Regions from separate parts of the Homo sapiens genome. Here all the other regions are linked to region 6. The links are contacts of gene promoters, found by promoter capture Hi-C in human tissues and cell types (Jung and others, 2019). All regions are on one chromosome and are shown on one strand. Each heading gives the region's core, a stretch centred on a gene start or on the middle of the fragment in contact. The rest is flanking DNA. Distances are from core to core; before and after follow the strand shown.

The links. The method cuts DNA at HindIII sites, captures the fragments that hold promoters and counts their contacts. A contact is called where the count stands out against the background at its distance.
Region 1: a fragment that was not itself captured here is called in contact with the fragment with the promoter of HTR2A in region 6 in 2 of the 25 tissues and cell types used here (dorsolateral prefrontal cortex and mesenchymal stem cells).
Region 2: a contact is called between a fragment that was not itself captured here and the fragment with the promoter of HTR2A in region 6, in 1 of the 25 tissues and cell types used here (lymphoblastoid cells).
Region 3: a fragment that was not itself captured here is called in contact with the fragment with the promoter of HTR2A in region 6 in 1 of the 25 tissues and cell types used here (dorsolateral prefrontal cortex).
Region 4: a contact is called between a fragment that was not itself captured here and the fragment with the promoter of HTR2A in region 6, in 3 of the 25 tissues and cell types used here (dorsolateral prefrontal cortex, lymphoblastoid cells and mesenchymal stem cells).
Region 5: a contact is called between a fragment that was not itself captured here and the fragment with the promoter of HTR2A in region 6, in 4 of the 25 tissues and cell types used here (H1 embryonic stem cells, lymphoblastoid cells, mesenchymal stem cells and 1 more).

The regions. Positions count from the first base shown.
Region 1 is chr13:47,256,387-47,260,025 of GRCh38, forward strand. No RefSeq gene overlaps it. Among named protein-coding and RNA genes, the nearest start is that of HTR2A, 360 kb to the left of the region's middle. The HindIII fragment of the contact is 5,283 bases long and covers 1-3,639 here.
Region 2 is chr13:47,152,176-47,156,092 of GRCh38, forward strand. No RefSeq gene overlaps it. Among named protein-coding and RNA genes, the nearest start is that of HTR2A, 260 kb to the left of the region's middle. The HindIII fragment of the contact is 3,082 bases long and covers 1-3,038 here.
Region 3 is chr13:47,236,862-47,240,543 of GRCh38, forward strand. No RefSeq gene overlaps it. Among named protein-coding and RNA genes, the nearest start is that of HTR2A, 340 kb to the left of the region's middle. The HindIII fragment of the contact is 3,466 bases long and covers 1-3,034 here.
Region 4 is chr13:47,354,360-47,357,807 of GRCh38, forward strand. No RefSeq gene overlaps it. Among named protein-coding and RNA genes, the nearest start is that of HTR2A, 460 kb to the left of the region's middle. The HindIII fragment of the contact is 4,983 bases long and covers 1-3,448 here.
Region 5 is chr13:47,312,882-47,316,790 of GRCh38, forward strand. No RefSeq gene overlaps it. Among named protein-coding and RNA genes, the nearest start is that of HTR2A, 420 kb to the left of the region's middle. The HindIII fragment of the contact is 8,995 bases long and covers 1-3,909 here.
Region 6 is chr13:46,895,057-46,898,605 of GRCh38, forward strand. HTR2A (5-hydroxytryptamine receptor 2A) reads right to left here and starts at 1,997. Exons shown (of 4, transcript NM_000621.5): 1 at 1,618-1,997; 2 at 439-1,178. The coding sequence starts at 850. The HindIII fragment of the contact is 6,478 bases long and covers 1-3,549 here.

The DNA of each region.
Region 1 (3,639 bases), core at 477-2,976, 360 kb after region 6:
GGGGTGGGGAAGACAAATGAGGCTATTGCGATGACTGGATTTAGGGAGAGAAGGAAAAAGAACAGTCAATACTTTGTATTCATGAGGTGGTAATAGGCAATTCAGGACATTCAGATAATAAGTTAGTTTTTGTATAACTTCAGTTTGTGGTATTGGAAAGATATTTAGATAGAAGTATTCAATATATAGGGAAAGTGGGCCTAAAGTCAAGGAGAGAAGTGGAACTAAAGATGTAGATGCAGAGATATTGGCAGCTGATACCACAGATATGGACAGGCTGGACTCAGGAAAACAGGCAGAGGGAGAGGAAAAGGCAGCAAGGACAGAACTCAAGAGCATGCAGCATTTTGAGAGGCTCAGACAGAGAAGAACCAGCTTCTGTGACTCAGGCACAGTCAGAGAAATTGGAGGAGACCCAGTTATTGTTCATCCTACAATTTTCCCATCATTCATTCTGCTCATGTCCATTTCCACACCCCTGAAGAGGAAGTGTACTCACTTAAGCCAACGGATGCTTACCAGTCATGACACACACCATATCTGAGCAGAAGCTTTAATTGTTGTGCATGCAATGTCTCTGTTTCTTTTGTTCCTATCATCCACTGTGACAAGAGGATGGGCCAGATGGTGGCTAATCCTTCATCATGGGTTCCAAAATGAGAAGACACATGGATCCCTGCCAAGGCTATAGCCAATCTGCAGGTCCCATGCAATGTGAACAAGAAATAAATATTGGGTTTTGAAAGCCATTGATTTGGGGGTTGTTTGCAGGTGCAACAAAAGCTGACTAACACTCTAATATTAAGGGAGTTTTGGGAAAAAGAGTAAAGGAAAAGGGGGTGTCAAATACTGCAGGGACGACAATAGCATGGGAATTGAAAAGAAGCAACTGACTTTGGTAAGCCCCAAGAGTGTGAATAGCAGCACACACCTGTATGAGTCCAGGATCAGGGCTTACCTTGGGCAAGACAATACAGCCTATTTTGGACACTCCCTGTCTTTTGGTTACCTGACATTTCCCATGTATTTTCCCATCTTAGTATCTCCTGGTATCCCTCAAAAACAGAATCTTTGTTATGTAGTTAACTGTCCTTTGTATGAGGGTCTCAGATTCAAGAGACTTTGAGACTAAAAGATGTTTAGACTCTGTGAAAAGAGTGAGTGGATAGGGGTGCCTCTAATCACACAGTTGCCTACCCAGAAAAAATTCTGTCCTTGGTAGAATTCCTTATTATTACCTTGGCTTCAAGTGGTCTTTGTCATATCTGTTTAAAATTGTACAAGATCAAAAGGGTTATCCAAGAGCTATAGATTCTGCCTAGCTACATATAATAAAAGAGCACTCAGCAGGGCATGCAACTTGAAAGTCAGTCCCTGGTGACCATGTGCAGAGGACAGTGGCTGTGAGCTTCATATTTAGGTTTCATATCCAGGCTCAGAAAATTCCTAGATGTGTTAACTTGGACAGTTGTTTAACTCTCTCTACCTTAGTTTCCTTTTTTATAATGTAGAAAAAAGAATAATATCTTTTGCAGAGTTTGATAGTGTTTAAATCAGAAAATGCTGAAGACGTACTTAGAGTGATTAGTACATAGCCTCAATAAATGTTAGTCATTAGTATATGTGTAATGCTATTCATATTACTACCCTATTTCTTAAATTTACTTTTATATGTAATAGAAGTCACAGCTTAACCCTTAACTGGGATTTAGATATGACTGTACATCAACTAGCAGGGCTGCTGCCAGGAGTCCATTTGAATGAGGGGTTTTTTGTTTTTTTTTGAGACAGAGTCTCACTCTGTCTGCCAGGCTGGAGTGCAGTGGCATGATCTGAATGAGGCTTTTTAGTGAAAGGAGGGTTAGAGAGCTTTCTCCTCTGCTGACAAAAGAGACAGCTTGGAGTGGGTCCCCTTCCTGGGTCTCCATCTCACAGTTGATAGGGTCCCCTTCTTGGCCCAGCCCAGCCAAATCTAGCTGATTCAATTCTAAGAACTGAGAACTGAAATCTATGGAAAGAGGGGCTGTATTTCTCATGAGGCACTATTTTTACAAGGATTCTTCTGGATAGGAGGGTAAAACAGCAGTGTTCACTCAAGAACCTGAGAATTGGGGAGGCTTTCTCATTCCTTCCATATGGAGCAGCAGCTCCAAACTAGAGATGATTCTGATTGTTTGCTTCACACTGACACCTCGAGGCACTTGGACAGCTCCTAAAGACAGCATCTTTGCCAAGAACGCCAGATTCCATGGTGACACTGGGGCTGTAGCCATGAGACATGCATGCACCAGGTGGGTTCTTGGGCAATGAACTTCAGTGATGAGATTAAAGCAGAAGAGTAGGAAAAGGTCACTTGAGAATTCCTACATGACTTCAGAGATTCCCAGAGAGAATTTTCTGAGATACGGGAAGCGTGTTAGGAGCTGTGGCTAAGAATGAGCAAATCATGGATAAGTATTATGAATTGGCCACATTTTAATTCCTAGTGTGGTGTAGCCTGAGACCAGAGAGGACACAGGCTTGGAGTTATGTAGTTGAAAAGGGGGCTGCTCTTACAAGACAGTGTATACCCTTCTGGTAAATTGATCGGATTCCTCATATCCTCAAATTTCCTCCACCTCCCCCAGCATGTGTGTGAAATTTCACATTACTTGCAGTTTTACATCCCTTCGTTTCTGGGATTCAAAATCCATTTTTTTCTAGAAAAAAATTATAACTTTTATTAGAAGTAGTGCTGAGTTTATGAAGATAATACAAGACTCTCTTTTTCAAGACAGCAAGTGTGAAGAGCATAAGGATATAAATTTATGAAATAAGTTGGGGAGGGGCTAATAGTGGAAATTATGGAAAGGTGGGAAAGTCACAAAATAAAGGTTGAAAGCATAAAGGTTGTGGCATGGAGACAATTTTTGTCAACTTCACAGCTCTGATTAGGCTCTACGCTAACACTCAATTTAACAAAGTAGAACTATGCATTCTCTTACCAATTCACTACAGAGGTGGTCTTTTATTCAAGTGCTGAGCATGTCCTAAAGATTGTGTCTGTGTGTGTTACATAATACAATACTAGCTGCTGTTCCAGCTAAACCTTAAAATTTCAGTGGTTCAATGCAACAGAGTAGAGGGTGGGGGGCAACAGAGTAGAGGGTGGGGGTTGTGTGCTGGACTTGGCCATGCTTAGCTTTTGACTTTCAAGGTTGCCCTGGGTGTGGATACAAAGATTCACCACCTCATCACCCTTCAAAAAGATACTTGCTGCCCCAGCTGTAGGGCATGCCTTCAGATGTCATCTCCTTTCAGGATTGCCTCTACTATAGAGAACTGCCATACCTGTGGTCACTTTCTAGAGTGGCCCACAACTAGAGACTAGTAAGCTCAGCTTCGATGGGCTGTTTTAGCTCTTGAGTGCCCATGGGGTATCCAAGCTTCTCATCAGGTCTGCTTCACAGCCCGACTTGTTCCTCTGCCCAATCCTGCTTTTCCTCTCCCTCCCATGGGTATTTATCCCAACACACTCCCTAATAAAAATCTAGCTCAGAGTCTAACCTCCATTTCAGAGTCTGCTTATAACCTAATGCAACCTAAGAAACTCTGAGAATTAATTAGTAGCTGGTAATGGGAGAATGCAGAGGAGGTCAC
Region 2 (3,917 bases), core at 248-2,747, 260 kb after region 6:
TATCTTCCATGTGTTGAGAAGTCAGAAGTCAATCTTACCTCTGACCTTTGTATATAATATTCTCTCTCTCTCTCCTTCTCTCAAACCTTTTACAATCTTCACTTTGTTGTCAGTGTTCTGAAGTGCCGGAATGTCATGATGATGTGCCTTGAGTTCCTTGGTGAGTGTTTATATTAATCTACTCTGCTGGTCTCTTAATTGCTCCTTGTAATCTAGGAGCCTTTGTCATTTATAAATGGAAAATTTTCACAAATTACTTGTTGATGATTTCCTTCCTTCAATTTTCTCTATTCTCTATTTGGATTCCTTTGTTTGGATATTGAAACTCTAGATCTAGTCTTCTAATATTCTTGCTTTTTCCCCCCTGCTATTTTCCATGTCTTAGTCTAATTTCATATGCATTTCTTGGGCTTTATTTTGCAAATCTTCTATGGCTTTTAAAAATTATTCTGTAATATTTTTAATTTATAAAAGCTCTTTTTTTGTTCTCAGAATGCTATTTTAATGATATTCTTTTTTTCTATGAGGATAGTAGTGACAGTTATTTTGAAATTATTTTGCCCCAGAGAAGTCTGTTCCTTCCAGGTGCACTATGGATACATGATTCTTTTGGTCCTTTTTATGTTAGAAACTTTATTCAGATGTCTGCCAATCCTTGGCTATATATTCAAATTTAAGATTTGGGCAAAAAGAAGATCTGAAATCTCAGAACTAGTGTGCTTTACTTTATAACTCTCTAACTGTGGTTTCCCTGTAGAGTGTCTGGCCAGGTAATTTCCTTGTGATGTCTACTGGTGAGAATTTCTTTCATTTTTTTCGGCTACTCAAGAGTCCTTGGAGGAACTGAGTGGCAAAAGGAAGTGTGTGTTCCCTCATTCTGGATATAAATATGTACTTAATCTTCATCACAGTTCCATCTTCAACTCTGGTTACCACCCCCAGTACAAAAACCACCTGTTTTATGCTTTCCAAGTATACAAGGTAACTCCAGTATTGAGAAGGAGAAAAATTTGGGGATCTGGTCATTCCTCAATTCCTTTTTTTTTTTTTAAGCTCATCAGTTCTACTTGCAGAGGTAATTGTCAGCTTCTGGAACTTTTAATGTTTCTGTATATTAAAAGAAACATTAATAAATGTTATAAATTGGATTATTTCTTAGTTTTCCCCGTTATTGGCCACTAGTGAGTCACTTAGCTTTTCCTAGCATTGGCTATTAAAAGAGAGCTTTCTTAATCATCTGCTTTCCAGCTACCAAAATTTGTTGCTATATCTTCTCTTACTCTCCTTGTCCTTTTAAGTTTATGACTTAAAAAAAAAAAATCCTTACTGTTGTCCTAGAGAGATTTTTGGTGAGCACGAAAGAAAATGTATATGGTTAAAGTGCCATCTTAATCCAGAATTTCTGATACTCTTAAAGCATGCCTAACTATGTATTTTACCTTTGAATCTCCAGTGCCTAGAACAATATCTGGTGAATATTAGGCCCTCAATATATATTTATTGAATATATATGTGTATTATGTCTGTATGTGTAAATATATATTGATGTGTATGTGTACATACACATATATTTATATATAAGTATATACTAAATATACATAGCTATAATTTTATCTGGTTTCCAGTGAAAGAAATACAACTAATAAAAAACTAAAAAAGAGAAACTAAATAAATAAATCTAAAAGGGAATTTATTGACCTATGTGACTGGGAAACAAAGAGGTAGATCTTGCTCCAAGCAAAAATGGATGTAGGGACTCTAATGAAATAATCAGATCGCTTGATTTCTCTGTGTTTTGGCGTTATTCCCCTCTGTGTTAGTCTGTTCTCGGACTGCTATGAAGAAATACTCCAGACTGGGTAATTTATAATGGAAAGAGGTTTAATTGACTCACAGTTCTGCATTGCTGGGGAGGCCTCAGGAAACTTACAATCATGGTGGAAGGCAAAGGAGAAGCAGGCACCTTCTTTACAGGGTGGCAGGACAGAGTGACTGCAAGCAGGGGAAACTCCAGATGCTTATAAAACTATCAGATATCGTGAGACTCATGCATTATCATGAGAACTGCATGGGGGAAACTGCCCCCATGATCCAATTACCTCCACCTGCCTCTGCCCTTGACATGTAGGGAATTATGGGGATTACGGGGATTACCATTCAAGATGAAATTTTGGGTGGGGATACAGCTAAGCTGTATCACCCCCTTTATAGACATAGAGCAAGCAGGGTAATTTATATCCTTTTCTCATGGTTCTAAAAGCAAGCTTCCTTTTCTTCCAGCACTGAATTGAAAAATCTCAGATATAAACTTTTGTTGACCGATTTGAGAAACGTGTCTACTCCTGAACCAATCAGGGTGGCTGGGAAAATGAAATACATAGGCTTTACATACTGTGGTCCATGGGCCAAATCTGGCCTGTCATCTTTTTAATTTTTTTTAAATACCACAGGATAAGAATAAGTTTTTCACATTTTTTAATGGTTACATTAGTTTTTTTACATACCTCTATAATATCTTCCATTTTGTCTTTTTTGGTCATGAAAGCCTAAAATATTTACCATGCAATTTGCTATGATTGGCTGAGTCTTGGTATGATGGATCATGTACACACTTCTGGTTGGATAGATGAGATACAATGATTGCAGGCTCAGTAGAAACAAATGTTTATAGTGGAGGAGTTAGTTTTCCAAATAAAGTATACATGCTGAACAGGCAAAATGCCACAAATAGTAATTATTCCTGAGGATTAAAAGCTTTTCCTATTAATGGTGCAAATCCAAATACATGTTCATGTGGGTGTTATATAGTTAAAACAGTTTCTCTCCATTCTTCCAACAACTTGAGAGCTATCATAGCTGCAGGAATTTTGTGAAAAACTTAATTTATGTCTAATTCTAAGACTAAAGCAATGTATGCTAGTCTAAGATGAGGCAGTCTTTAGGTTGGGTAGAATAATATTTGCATCAGTTTTCAAGCTACATAATGAAAGAGATAACTAGCCATTTGATATGGATCCATTTATTCATTATTCATTTAACAAACATTTCTTGATAAAATGTTAGTGTCTAGTTACCACCTAGTTACCTTCTTCCCTACACTAGTAACTATATTTATCAATTTTTGTTATATCTCCACTGTTTCTTTTATAAAATATAAGTAAACACACACACATATACACACATGTGTACACATACGCACACACATACATATATATAAACTCGTGTGTGTGTGTGTGTATGTGTATATATATATATATATATATATATATATATATATAATAATTACATCTGGGGTTTTCATTTGAAAACCTCAGGAACTAAGCTTATATACTTCCAGTCATTTTAGCCTCCCATAAAGTTTAGTTGTACCTTTAAATAAATATGTTGACTCAGTCTGACCTTTGAGAGTCAGGATCATAAGAAGATTCAGGTCCAATTACAGAACTCGGTAACAGTTAAAATTTCACTTTCATTCTCCAGAGATATTCCTTCATAAATAATGTATACATATTCATTTACCCTCTGACCCACTTAAAATCTATCTCACAGCAAAATACTAAATGTCCTTTGCACAAGACTATTCATAGAAACCTTATTTATAATTGCAATGGAAAAGTCCATTAATAAGGAACTGGTTGAAGAAAATTATGGTTTATTCACTCAATGAAGGCTAAAAAAGCAAATAAAAAGGGGATGAATAGGATATCAATATGCTAATATAGCATTGATATGGTTTGGCTGTGTACCTACACCAATCTCATCTTCCGTTGGAGCTCTCATAATTCCCACGTGTCATGGGAGGCACTGGGTGGGAGGTAATTGAATCATAGGGGCAGGTCTTTCCTGTGCAGTTCTCGTGATAATGAATAAGTCTCATGAGATCTGATGGTTTTATAGAGGGGAGTTCCCCTGCACAT
Region 3 (3,682 bases), core at 52-2,551, 340 kb after region 6:
ATCCATGCATTCATTCATTCATTCATTCATTCACTTACTCATTCTCTCAAATGCTCCTTCATTCTTTCAACAAAAAAATTTTTTAGAGCTTGACATAATTTCTACCTTCAAGGAGTTTACATTTAATGAGGGCAACCAGCAGCTAACTAGATGATTATAATAGTGTAAACACTGACCCTTGAACACAGTAGTATGGTGACAAACTGCCCTGGTTTGCCCAGGACTCCTGAGTTTTCTGGGATATGGGACTTTCATTTTTTTCAAAAATGGTATAGTTCCTGGCAAACTGGGACACTTAATCACCTTAGCTGTGGGAGTATAGAAGAGGCAACCCATGACCCTGCTTGAAAAGGCAAAAGAACATTTCCCAGAAGAGGTGGTTCTAATGCTGGAATTTCAGACCAGGCAGGTGGGAGGTTCAATTCCTTAACAGCCTAGCCCAGTGGTGTCCACCTCATATTCTCATATTCTCCAGGGATCTCAGGAAGAAGGAGGCTCATGATGCTGGACTGGACATTTCTTCCTCCTCTTAAACACACACACACACACACACACACACACACACAGAGAGAGAGAGAGAGAGAGAGAGAGAAAACAAGAACATAGGCACAAGCAAGCAGGCAAGCAGCTTTGGCCTTTCTGAATGAAATCCAGCTTTTTTGAAAATTATTTTTAAATTCACAGTGAACCATCTCATACATTTTACTTCTTTCTGTAATCAAAGCTTGAGCCATATTTCTGGGCATCTAAAGTAGGATGCATTTGGAATTTTAAATCTGCTGTATTTAACTCTGCAAATATCAAAGAATGAAGAATCTTTATGAGAGGAAAAGGGCAGCTAAGCACTGTAGCAGCCTTCTCATTTGCTGGGTGACACTGAGTCACTGACGATGGTTCCTAGGGTATGGCAGAGTCACTACAGAGGCTCTCATGAGTGATCCAGGCAGGAGCACAGGCTGGAGCCACTGCTGAGGGCAGATGTTCTCTGTTCCAGAGGCAGAACACATCTCTGGAGGCTTGCTATGTAAGGGTGGCACAGAGCTGCCAGAAAACATAATAATTGCTGTGATTATGATTATAAGTGCCGTTTAATTGCTGTTGCATCATGCCAAATATCTTGGGAAGAAAAAAGTAGGGCCTTATGAATAAATGATCACTTAAAATATTTAAATAGATGATTATAATATACGACTTTAGAATACTTGACTTTACCCTGAAGCTGAATGTTTCCTGCAAAGTATGGCAAATTCATGGTCAGCAGTAAACAGTTTAGATGTCTAGTAACTTGAAATACATACAGTGCACCCTTGCTTAAGAAAACTTGTGTACATCTGAGTAATGGATAAATCAGACAGTAATTATGTAACATGGGGACTTAGGATAATTATTTCAGGAATGTATTGGGAAATATGTTGTATTGAAAAATGATCTGCTTTTAATTGTCCATTTCCAAAACAAAAAACAATCTTGAAGTTTACATAAAACTAAGCTTGGTTGAGAATGAAAGTTGTTTCCTCAATTCCCAAATCTCCCTTCTATGTAGTAAAATACAAGGCTAATATAACATAGTAGAAGAGTTTTACTATAAACCATGGTTTATCATAAGACATAACCCACCCCACATAAGTAGAAAGCCCTTTGCTGAGAGGAAAAGCAGAGGAATTTAGTGACGATGTCACTAGAATGGGAATGTTGCCGCCAGAGTCCCTGAAAGCAGACCTAGCACCTCGTATCTCCTGGGCCTCGAGCAATCAAATCCCAACAAAAAACCCAGCTAGGTTGAGAGGGAATGAAAGAACATTCTGGCTGTTGCTCTGTTTCTGGGATCAAAATGGTGCAAAAGCAATGAAGCTGTGAGTAGAGGGAGTTTTCTTGATAGACGGACCTGTAATAATAGTCTACAGTCTTCCATAGACTGCATACCAGGAATGTGGATCCATGTAGGGGAATAGGAAGGGACCCAAGGTCAGAAGACAAAGGCCGCAGGGCAGGGTTTGGCAAACTGTGGTCTGCAGGCCAACTCCTGTTACAGCCTACCTTTTTACAGCCCTGAGATATAATTTTAAAAAAATTTTAAAGGACTATAGAAAAGAAGAAGATGAAGGTGACAGAAGAGAGGGAAGAAAATGAGAGGAAAAGGAGGAAGGAACAGGAGGAGGAGAACAATAGTAAACAACAAGAAAAGTATGTGACAGAGACTGCATGTGATCTACGAAGTCTAAGGTATTTACTTTCTATCCCTGTATAGAAAAAGTTTGCTAAGCCCTGTTATAGAGCGCAGGGACCTCATATCCACGGCAAATTACAGTCACTGTAGACTTCAGCATCAGGAGCCAGGACAAGGCCAAAAGTCCAAGTGGGAGTAGGAACATCCAGGTGGATACCAGCACAGAGTCCAGAGCAAACCAGGCACACTACTAAAGAGACCAGGAAAGCAGGAAGGAAACCTATGCCACAGAAGCTTCTCCTCATAAATCCATGAGGATAAATAAGGTTCATCCTGAATCCAGACATGTCTCAGAAAAGGGGAGAAGGAAGGAAAACTCTGATGGGAAAAGAGGAATGATTGGGAGTTTGAACTTTGAACTGAGTATCACATGTGGCTGAGTTAACCTGAAAAACAAAGATAGTGTAAGCTTAAGGTTCTTCTTCTTTTTTTTTGTATTTTAAGAGATGGGCCCTCACTCTGTTGCCCAGGACTGTCTTGAACCTATGACTTCAGGGCTGGTCTCGAGCCCCTCACCTCAGTCTCCCAAAGTGCTAGTATCACAGGCCTGAGCCACTGTGCCCAGCCCTAGCATATTTATCTTTTTTTTTTTTTTTTTTTTGGACACAGGGTTTCACTCTGTTGCCCAAGCCAGAATGCAGTGGTGTGATCATAGCTCACTGCAGCCTTGAACTCCTGGACTCAAATGATTCTCCTGCCTGAGCCTCCCAAGTAGCTAGGACTACAGGCATGTGCCACCATACCTGGCTAATTTTCTAATTTTTTGTAGAAACAGGGTCTTCCTGTGTTGCCCAGGCTGGTCCTGAACTCCTGGGCTCAAGCAATCCTCCTGCCTCAGCCTCCCAAACTTGGGATTTCAGGCATGAGCCACTGCACTTGGCCAGGCTTCTTTTTCTGTTGTTGTTGTTTTTTTAAATTATTATACTTTAAGTTCTGGGATATGTGTGCAGAACATGCATGTTTGTTACATAGGTATACATGTGCCATGGTGGCTTGCTGCACCCATCAACCCGTCATCTACATTAAGTATTTCTCCTAATGCTATCCCTCCCCTAGCCCTCCATCCCCCCAAGCAGGACCTGGTGTGTGATGTTCCCCTCCCTGTGTCCATGTGTTCTCATTGTTCAACTCCCACTTATGAGTGAGAACATGTGGTGTTTGGTTTTCTGTTCCTGTGTTAGTTTGCTGAGAATGATGGTTTCAAGCTTCATCCATGTCCTTGCAAAGGACATGAACTCATCTTTTTTATGGCTTCATAGTATTCCATGGAATATATGTGCCACATTTTCTTTGTCCAATATGTCACTGGTCATCATTCGGGTTGGTTCCAAGTCTTTGCTATTGCGAACAGTGCTGCAATAAACATACGTGTGTGTGTGTCTTAGTAGAATGATTTATAATCCTTTGGTCATATACCCAGTAATGGGATTGCCGGCTCAAATGGTATTTCTAGTT
Region 4 (3,448 bases), core at 583-3,082, 460 kb after region 6:
AATGACAGGCTTTTCTTTTTTTAAGGCTAAATAGTATTCTATTATATATGTGTATTGTATATAACACATGTTCTTATTCCATCCTTCTGTTGATGACACTTAGGATGGCTCCATATTTTGGCTTGTTCCATATCTTGTGAATAATGCTGCAGTGAACATGGCAGTGCAAATATCTCTTTGACCTACTTACTCCATTTCATTTGGATGTATATACACAGTAGTGAGATTGTTGAATCATATGGTGCTTTTATTTTTTCATTTTTGAGAAAATTCCATAGAGTTTTCCATAATGGTTGTGCTAATTTATATTCCCACCAACAGTATGCAAGGGTTCCCTTTTCTCCGCATCCTGGCCAATACTTTTTATCATTCGTCTGTTTTATAATAGCCATTATAACAAATGTGAGGGCATATCTTTTTGTGATTTTAATTTGCATTTCTCTGATAATTAGTGATGTTGAGCATTTTTCCATATACCTGTTGGCTATTTGTATGTCTTCTTTTGAGAAATATCTATTCAGGTCCTTTGCTGATTTTTAAATTAAGTTGTTTGTTTTTTGGCTAGTAAGTTGTCTGAGTTAAATATATATATAATATATATATGTATATAGATAGATACACACATACATATATATGTATATATTACATATATACATATATTATATAGTATACACATATTATATAATATGTATATGTATGTGTGAAATATATTTAGAGAAAGTCTCACTCTGTCACCCAGGCTGCAGTATAATGGTGTGATCATAGCTCACTGTAGCCACCAACTACTGGGGTCAGGCAATCCTGCCACCTTAGCCTCCTATGTAGCTTGGACTACTATAGGCACACACCACCATGCCTAATAATTTTTTTCCTTTTTAATAGAGAAAAGATTTCATTATTTTGCCCAGGCTGGTCTCAAACTGCTGGCCTCAAGTGATCCTCTCACCTCATCCTCCCAAGGTGCTGGGATTACAGGTGTGAGCCAACAAGCTTAGCCTCCTTATACGTTTTGGATATTCACCTCTTATCAAATACATGCTTTGAAAATACTTTCTCCTATTCTGTAGGTTATCTCTTTACACTGTTGGTTGTTTCTTTTGCTGTGCAGAAGCTTTTAGTTTGACGGAATCCCATTGGCTTAATTTTGCTTTTGTTGCCTGTGTTTTGGGGGTCATATTCAAACAAATCATTATCCAGACCAATGTCATAGAGCTTTCCTCCTAGGTTTTCTTCTAATGATTTTACAGTTTCAGGTCTTACATTTAAGTCTTTAATCTATTTTGATTTGGGTCTTCTCTTTTTTTTTCGGTATGTGGTGTGAGATGAAGATCTAATTTCATTCTCCTGCATGTGATTATCCAGTTTTCTCAGCATCCTTTTATTGAAGAAACATTATGTTTCTCCATTGTGTGTTCTTGGCACCTTTGCTGAAAATCAATTGACTATAAGTGTGTGGATTTATTTAGGGCTTTCTATTCGGTTCCATTGGTCTATGTGTGTCTTTTAGGCCAGTACCATCCTGTTTTGTTTACTATAACTTTGTAACATATTTTGAAGTCAGATAGTGTGACGCCTCCAGTTTTTTGTTTTGTTTTGTTTTTGTTTTTGTTTACCCATGGATACTTTCATTGTTTGGGGTCTTTTGTGGGTCCATATGCATTTAATTTTTTTTTCTATTTCTGAGAAAAATATCATCAGATTTTGGTAGAGATTGCACTGAATTCTTAGATTGCTTTGGGTAGTACGGACACTTTAACAATATTAATTCTTTCAATACATGAACATGGGGTATCTTTTAATTTATCTGTAAATGTGCCATTGAATTTGGTTTGCTAGTATTTTGTGGAGGATTTTTGTGGCTATATTCATCAGGGATGTTGGCCTGAAATTTTTTGTATTGTTCTTGTGTTGCTTTCTTATTAATGTTGGACTCATAAAATGGTTTTGGAAGTTTTTTCTCCTCACCAATTTTTTGGAAGTGTTTGAGAGTATTGACATTAATTTTCTCTAAATATTTGGTAGAATTTACCAGTGTTGCCGTCTGGCCTTAGGTGTTGTTGTTCTTGTTGTTCAGAGGTTTTAGATTACTGAATCAACCTCCTTACTCATTATTAGTATTTTCTGATTTTCTGTTTCTTCATGACTCAATCTTAGTAGGTTATATTTCTAAGAATGTATTCATTCCTTCTAGGTTAATTCATTTGTTAACTTATAATTGTTCATAGTAGTCGCTCATGATCCTTTGTCTCTCTGTGATTTGATTTGGGTCTTCTCTCTTTTTTTAGTCAGTCTACCTAGTGATTTCTGCTATTTTGTTTCTGTCTTGCTATTTTTTGGCATAGTTCGTTCTTATTTTACTGGTTTCTTGAGGTGTAAAGACAGGTTGTTTATTTGAGATCTTTTCTTTTTTCTCAATCTAACTGTTTATTGCTATAAGCTTCCCTGTTAGAACTGTTTTTGAAGACTTGTAAGTTTTGATATGTTGTGTCTCCATTTTTTGTGTGTCTCAAAATATGATTTTATTTCCCTAACATCGTTTTCCATTTTTTTTGTGTCTCAAGATATGGTTTTATTTCCCTTTTTAGGTTTTGTTTTCCTAAGTTTTTATCTCAGACCCATTAATTGTTCAGGAGTGTGTTGTTTAATTTTCACATATTTGTGAATTTTTCATTTTTCTTCTGTTACTGATTTCTAGTTTCATACCATTGTAGTCAGCAGAGATTTCATATGATTTCAATCTTTCTGAAGCTGTTAAGACTTGTTTTATGGCCTAACGTATGACCTATCTTGGAGAATGTTCCATGTGCACTCAAGAAAAATGTGTACTCTGCTGCTTCTGGATGGGATGTTCTGTATATGTCTGTTAGGTCCATTTGCTCTATAATGTTCCAGTCAGCTGTTCCCTCTTTGATTTTTCTGTCTGGATGATCTATCCATTGTTAAGAGTGGAGTACTGAAGGACCCTACTACATTCTATTGCTTTATACTTCTCTCTTCCATGCAGTTAATACTTTATTTATTTAATTACATGACTAGTGTTTCACACATACATTTTTGCAATTGTTATATTCTCTAGATTAATTGGCCCTTTTATTATTATATAATGGCCTTCTTTGTCTCTTTTGACTATTTTGACTTAAAGATTTTTTTTGACTGATATAAGTATAGCCACTCCTGCTCTTTTTTTTTAACCATTAGCATGGAATATCTTTCTCCATATTTTAACTTTCACCATATGTGTGCCCTTAAAGCTAAAATGAGTCTCTTGTAAGGAGCATGTAGTTAGAACATTTTTATCCATTCAGTCACTGTATCTTTTGAAGAATTTAATTCTTAAAACTGTGACACAAAAGATAAATGAGGTAATTACTGATAGGAAAGGACTTACTATTGTACTTTGTTAATTGTTTTTTGACTGTTTTGTAGTTCCTTGCACTTTCTTTCTGTC
Region 5 (3,909 bases), core at 932-3,431, 420 kb after region 6:
CCACAGTGGAATAAAATTGGAAATCAACCTTAAAAGGAACCCTCAAAACCAAGCAAATATATGGAAATTAAATAACCTGCTCCTGAATGATCATTGAGTCAACAATAAAATCAAGATAGAAATTTTAAAAGTCTTTGAACTGAATGATAATAGTGACACAATCTATCTAAACTTCTAGGATACAGCAAAGGCAATGCTAAGAGGAAAGTTCATAGCATTAAATACGTACATCAAAAAGTCTTAAAGAGCACAAATAGACAATCTAAGATTACACCTCAAGGAACTAGAGAAACAAGAACAAACCAAACCCAAACCAAGCAGAAGAAAAGAAATAACAAAGATCAGAGCAGAACTAAGTGAAATCGAAACAAAAAAGATACAAAAGATAAATGAAACAAAAACCTGGTTATTTGAAAAGATAAATAAAATTGATAGTCTATTATGAAGATTAACCAAGAAAAGAAGAGAGAATCTCTAAAGAACCTCAATTAAAAATGAAACAGGAGATATTACAACTGATACCACAGAAATACAAAAGATCATTCGAGGCTACTATGAATACTTTTACATGCACAAACTAGAAAACATAGAGGAGATGGGTAAATTCCTGGAAATATGCAACCCTCCTAGATTAATCCAGGAAGAAATAGAAACTCCAAACAGACCAATAACAAGCAACAAGACTGAAATGGTAATAAATACATTGCCAACAACAACAAAAAAATCTAGGACTAGATGGATTCACAGCTGAATTCTATCAGACATTCAAAGAATTGATACCAATCCTATTGAAACTATTCTGAAAGATAGAGAAAGAGGGAATCCCTCCTAAATCATTCTATGAAGCTAGTATCACTTTAATACCCAAACCAGGAAAAGACATAACAAAAAAACAAAACTACAGACCAATGTATACCTGTCTGGGTCTTTTGTGGTTCTATATAAATTTTAGGATTGTTTTTCTATTTATATTTCTGTGAAGAGTGTCATTGATATTTTGATAGAAACTGCACTGAATCTATAGATTGCTTTGGGAACCACGGACATTTTAACTATATCGATTCTTGTAATTTATGAACATGGAATATCCAAAATTTTCTGAAAACTGCAAACACTGGTGAGAGAAATACAAGAAAAGCTATACAAATGGAGAGGTATTTATGGATTAGAAGAGTCATATTGTTTTTTTGAGACAGAGTCTCACTCTGTTGCCCAGGCTGGAGAGCACTGGTGCAATCTTGGCTCACTGCAACCTCTGTCTCCTGGGTTGGAGCACTTCTCCTGCCTCAGCCTCCCGAGTAACTGGGATTACAGGTGTTCTCCACCACGCCCGGCTAATTTCTGTATTTTTAGTAGAGACAGAGTTTCATCATGTTGACCAGGCTGGTCTCAAAGTCCTGACCTCAGGTGATCCACCCACCTCAGCCTCCCAGAGTGCTAGAATTACTGGCCTGAGCCACTGTGCCCTGCCTCATGTTGTTAATATATAAATTCTCCCCAAATTGATCTACAGCATCAATACAATTCCTATTAAAATTCCATCAGGTATATTTTTAATTAACAAACTGATTCTAAAATTTACAAAGAAAATGCCAAATACTAAAAATAGCCAAAACAACTTTGAAAAAGAACACTATCTGATTCAAAATTTACTATAAAGCTATAGCAATAAAAACAGTGTAGGGCTGATATAGAAGTAGACAAATATATCAATGGAACAGAATAAAGAATCCTGAAATAAACCTATATATATATATGTGTGTGTGTGTGTGTGTGTGTGTGTGTGTGTATTGATTTTTAATAAATGTCTCAAAGCAATTCAGTGGCAAAGGATAATTTTTCAAAAAGTTGTGCTGACACAAGTAGATATTCATATGCAAAAATATGATCCTCAAACAATACATAAAAATTAACTTGAGTCACAGGACTAAATATAAATTAAAGTGATATAAAATCCAGAGATACATTTAGGAGAAAAATCTTAGTAACCTTAAGCTTAGCAGTGATTTTTTAAAACATGACATTAAAAAGCATAAAGTATAGAATAAAAGATTAATAAATTGAAGTTTAATTTGTAATAAAACTTTTCTTCTTCAAAAGACAATGATAAGAAGAAGTAAAGGCAAGTCATAGACTGGGAAAAATATTTGCAAAACAGATATCTGAAAAAGGATTTGTATTTGTAATACATAAGGAATTCTTATAACTCAAAATAAACAACATACTACAAAGTGGACAAAAAATTTGAGTGTATGTGTCACCAGAAATTGATTTGTTGATATGATATGAGGTAGGGGACAAGATATTGTCATGACCTTGGGATGGGGAAGATATCTTGTCACAAGAAATGCTAATGCTGAAGGAAAAGTTTTGTAAATTACATTCAAATTGAGAACCTCTTGTCAAACGATACTGAGAGAATAAAAAGTCAAATCATGGCGTAGGATAAAATATATGCAATACATAGAAATAGCAGAAAACATGTTTCTAGAACATAAAAGGAACTCCTACGTGTTAACAGAAAATAATTTCTACAAGTTTTCTGTAAATCTGAAACTGCTCTAAAAAATACAGTATATTTTTTAAAACATGGAAGGAAAGAAGGAAGGAAGGATTAACTCATTAGAAAAAAGAGCAAAGTTGAACAGACACTTTCCTAAACATGATATCCAAGCAGTTAAACAAGCATATGAAAAGGTGCTTAATTTTTGTATAAGGTGTAAGGAAGGGGTCCAGTTTCAGTTTTCTGCATATGGCTAGCCAGTTTTACCAACACCATTTATTAAATAGGGAATCCTTTCCCCATTGCTTTTTCTTGTTGGGTTTGTCGAAGATCAGATGGTTGTAGATGTGTGGTGTTATTTCTGAGGCCTCTGTTCTGTACTCAAGATGGATTAAAGACTTAAACGTAAGACCTAAAACCATAAAAACCCTGGAAGAAAACCTAGGCAATACCATTAAGGACATAGGCATGGGCAAAGACTTCATGACTGAAACACCAAAAGCAATGGCAACGAAAGCCAAAATTGACAAATGGGATCTAATTAAACTAAAGAGCTTCTGTACAGCAAAAGAAACTATCATCACAGTGAACCGGCCACCTACAGAATGGGAGAATTTTTGCAATCTATCCATCTGACAAAGGGCTAATATCCAGAATCTACAAGGAACTTAAACAAATTTATAAGAAAAGAAAAGAAATAAACAACCCCATCAAAAAGTGGGTGAAGGATATGAACAGACACTTCTCAAAAGAAGACATTTATACAGCCTACAAACATATATAAAAAATGCTCCTCATCACTGATCATTAGAGAAATGCAAATCAAAACCACAATTAGATACCATGTCATGCCAGTTAGAATGGCGATCATTAAAAAGTCAGGAAACAACAGATGCTGGAGAGGATGTGGAGAAATAGGAATGCTTTTACACTGTTGATGGGAGTGTAAATTAGTTCAACCATTGTGGAAGACAGTGTGGCGATTCCTCAAGCATCTAGAACCAGAAATACCATTTGACCCAGCAATCCCATCACTGGGTATATACCCAAAGGATTATAAATCAATCTACTATAAAGACACATGCACACGTATGCTTATTGCAGCACTATTTACAACAGCAAAGACTGGACTGAACCCAAATGCCCATCACTAATAGACTGGGTAAAGAAAATATGACACATATATACCATGGAATACTATGCAGCCTTAAAAAACAATGAGTTCATGTCCTTTTCAGGGACATGGATGAAGCTGGAAACCATCATTCTCAGCAAACTGACACAGGAACAGAAAACCGAACACCACATGTTCTTACTCATAAGTGGGAGTTGAACAATGAGAACACATGTACATAGGGAGGGCAACATCACACACCAGGGCCTGTTGGGGGGTGGGGAGAAGGGGA
Region 6 (3,549 bases), core at 747-3,246:
GAAAACTGTGTGACAAAGATTAAAACTGTTCTGTCCTGAAGGCTGGAATATTGGTTGGGAATATAAAGAAGCAAAAATCAAGTAGATTCAGAATGATGGGTAAGTTATTGGTTTATGACTGTATGGGGTAATTTATAAAAATTTCTACATTAAATGTACATGTTTTGAAGCACAAAACTCTCCAATGATCATTTTTACACAGGATGTACGCGTTTTGAAGCACAAAACTCTCCAGTGATCACAGGTCATAGACTGTCTGATTTTTATGTGAAATCCCATTTTAAGAGTAAAATATAAGTAACATAGTAGGCTCTAGTCTATAAACAAAGACTTCTATTTATAGTTTGTTTGCCCCCTGAGCCCCATCTCATCTGCTGGTGGCATGCACATGCTCTTTATTACCAGTGCGAATATAGCTGGGAAACTAATGCCACTCACCATACAGGATGGTTAACATGGACACGGGCATGACAAGGAAACCCAGCAGCATATCAGCTATGGCAAGTGACATCAGGAAATAGTTGGTGGCATTCTGCAGCTTTTTCTCTAGGGACACTGCCATGATGACGAGTATGTTTCCAGCAATAGTTAGAATAATCACTACGGCTGTCAGTAAAGCAGACCAGTTTTTTTCCTGGAGATGAAGTAAGGAGAGACACGACGGTGAGAGGCACCCTTCACAGGAAAGGTTGGTTCGATTTTCAGAGTCGACTGTCCAGTTAAATGCATCAGAAGTGTTAGCTTCTCCGGAGTTAAAGTCATTACTGTAGAGCCTGGTGTCATCATTTAATTGCATTAGGGAGTTCGTAGTTGAGCTCAAAGAAGTATTTTCTTCACAAAGAATATCCATGTCTAAGCCAGAACTTGTAGCAGATGAGGTGTAGAAGGACTAACAGGTTATAGTTTCTGCTCACCATTCACCTTGATGTACCCACACTCTGTAACACTGAGGCTGGTGTACATGCTGTTCTCCCGGGGCTGGATTTTTGTCTTCCATTATTACAATGATAGTTAAAGAACTGAACTGTGGTGGCTGTAAGTTTTCTTCATTCACAATTTTAGGAGAGTCCACTGTTTGGTTTTATTATTTTCTCACCAAACCGAGGACAAAAAAGCAGAATGAACTTTTAGCATAGAGGTTGCAGGGTTTTTTTTGAGCGCTCGGGAAGATAAATGTCCTGGACAAAGAAGAAAAGTTTTATAACTACTGGGACTCTTGTTTAACTATATCTCATTTTGTTGGTTATGCCGATGGTACTAGTTTAGCAACAGTATTATTAAAATAGCATGCAATCAGAAACAGTGGGGATGTACACATTCTACATTAAGAAAGTCAATTAAAAATACATCCAGTGTTAATCCCATAGTAATTGGATGTACTTTGGGTTACAGTTCTCAGCCATTCTTAAGCTGAATTGCCACAGCTGCTGTCAGGAATTTCAGCTCCTATAATGTTGCTTAGCTAATAAAAGGAAAACAAAAAAGTCTTAAGTAAAGATTAGCAGACAACTTTCCTCCCTGGAAATTCTCATTGAAATGATTACATGTTGGCCAAGCATGATTTCAAACCGGAAAGAAAATTACACAGCAATAAAATATAGCGGCATGAGAACTTACATTTGTCTTCAGGGTCCACACATGAGATACATTTGTTATTCTGTGACTCGCTGCATCTCTCACAGTAATTAAACTGGTGTAGAGTCCCCTCTTCTTGATCTTCCACCAGCATAATATGATAGTAATTTGGTTTCTGTTTTGCTGACTTCAAAAACTGCATGCAAGAGCTGAGCCAGCTCCCGCACTGCTAGGATCCTGTTGGCTTCCTCTGGCACGGCTCGGCTGGGTTCCTCCCTCCCTGTGCGGCTCGCCTCAGCAGGCACACATTTAGAAATCATTCACGAGCCCCTCAAAGTCGCACAAAAGAACTGCATGGGAAAGTAGGAAGAGCTGTCTGCACCAAGGGACTCCTGGTTTCCACGGGAATGGAGTAGCTCTCTGACTGTCTCGTTCATTTCATCAGACCTCCCTCTATGTGTATGTCATAAGCTGCAAGGTAGCAACAGCCAGGAGGGCGGACCAAACAGGCTTTTTCTTCTCCCTCTTTTTGCTACATATTAATATTGGGAAGTTTTCCTTTGCTTTTGAGAGAAACTGGAGAAATGGCCTTTTGTGCAGATTCCCATTAAGGTAGGTAAGTGGCACTGTGGTAATTTTTTAGGCTGAAGGGTGAAGAGAGAACATAAATAAGGCTAGAAAACAGTATGTCCTCGGAGTGCTGTGAGTGTCCGGCACTTCCATCCAAAGCCAACAGTGTTTGTGTCCAGAGTGGAATTACTGACATTGGCCACATAGGCTCAGGGTGGCTAGGCACGTCTGTGGTGATAACTCTGATAAACTATTAGCACTATTTTTATTTAATAGATACACCATTGAACTGGCTTATTTTCTTCAGCAGAAATATGCCACCCAGATATTATTCAAAACCTCACATGTGGTAGGAAATAAGTTGGTTTCGCAGTACCAATTTTTTTCCCCCACCAGTAATGACAACTTGCCTTACTTGTAAAGAAAGCCCTTTCCCAAGTAGGTTTCTAAAGGAGGCAGTTCGATCTCTCTCTTTTTGCAGGCATGAAAATATTTTCCTCAATAGTTGGGTTTTGCTACAGTTCTATCACCTTCTGTTCTTCACATTCTCCCTGGACAAATTCAACCACTCTCATGCCTTCAATATGTTTGTGGCCAAGTCTGTACCTTCATAGCTGATTATTTCTCTCAGTTCCAGACCTAAATCTCTAGCTGCCCATTGGCTCCTTCCATGGTAGCCTGGGAGACCTTGACCTCAGCATCTTCCCTCACTCCGCATCCCCCTGCCCGGCTCTCAGTGCTTGTTCCTACCCATTGGCTTGCATGATGGAATCACCACCTCTTCAGACAGCTGCTGTTATCCGCGACTCTTCCTTCATTCTCGCTGCCAGATCCCACTTCGTCTCCGGTGCTACCTCTGTATGCGTGTTTCTCACATGTCCTCTCCTGCAGCCTGCAGCTGGCACCCTGTGGTCGAGATCTAGCCACCTATTTCCTGGGTGGGTGCCTTAGTGCCCCCCTCACTGCCATGCCTGCCACCCTCCTACCCCTCCACGTTAAATATGCACGCTGGCGAGCAGGCAGCGGAGAACACAGACCTTAGAGTTCCTTGGTTTTGGATCCTAGCTCTATCACTCATAAACAGTAGAACCTCGCCTCATCTAGTTGCTCCCTTTAAAGCTCAGTCTTCTCACTTGTAAAATGGGATAATACCTTCCTCATAAGATTGTAGTGAAGCTAAACTGAGATAATGTGTGTAAGTATTTGGCCCATGTCTGGCTTATAGGAGGTTCTCAAGTAATGTCAGCCACTTTCATTCCTATTGATATTCTTACTGATATTAATGACACAATTGGCATCACTCCCATGCCTACACTCCTGCAGTCCCTTCCTTGTGGGGCACATAACACTTTTCTTCATCTACCTGTACCCTGCTTGCCCCACTTTGCAGGCCTGGACTCTGGT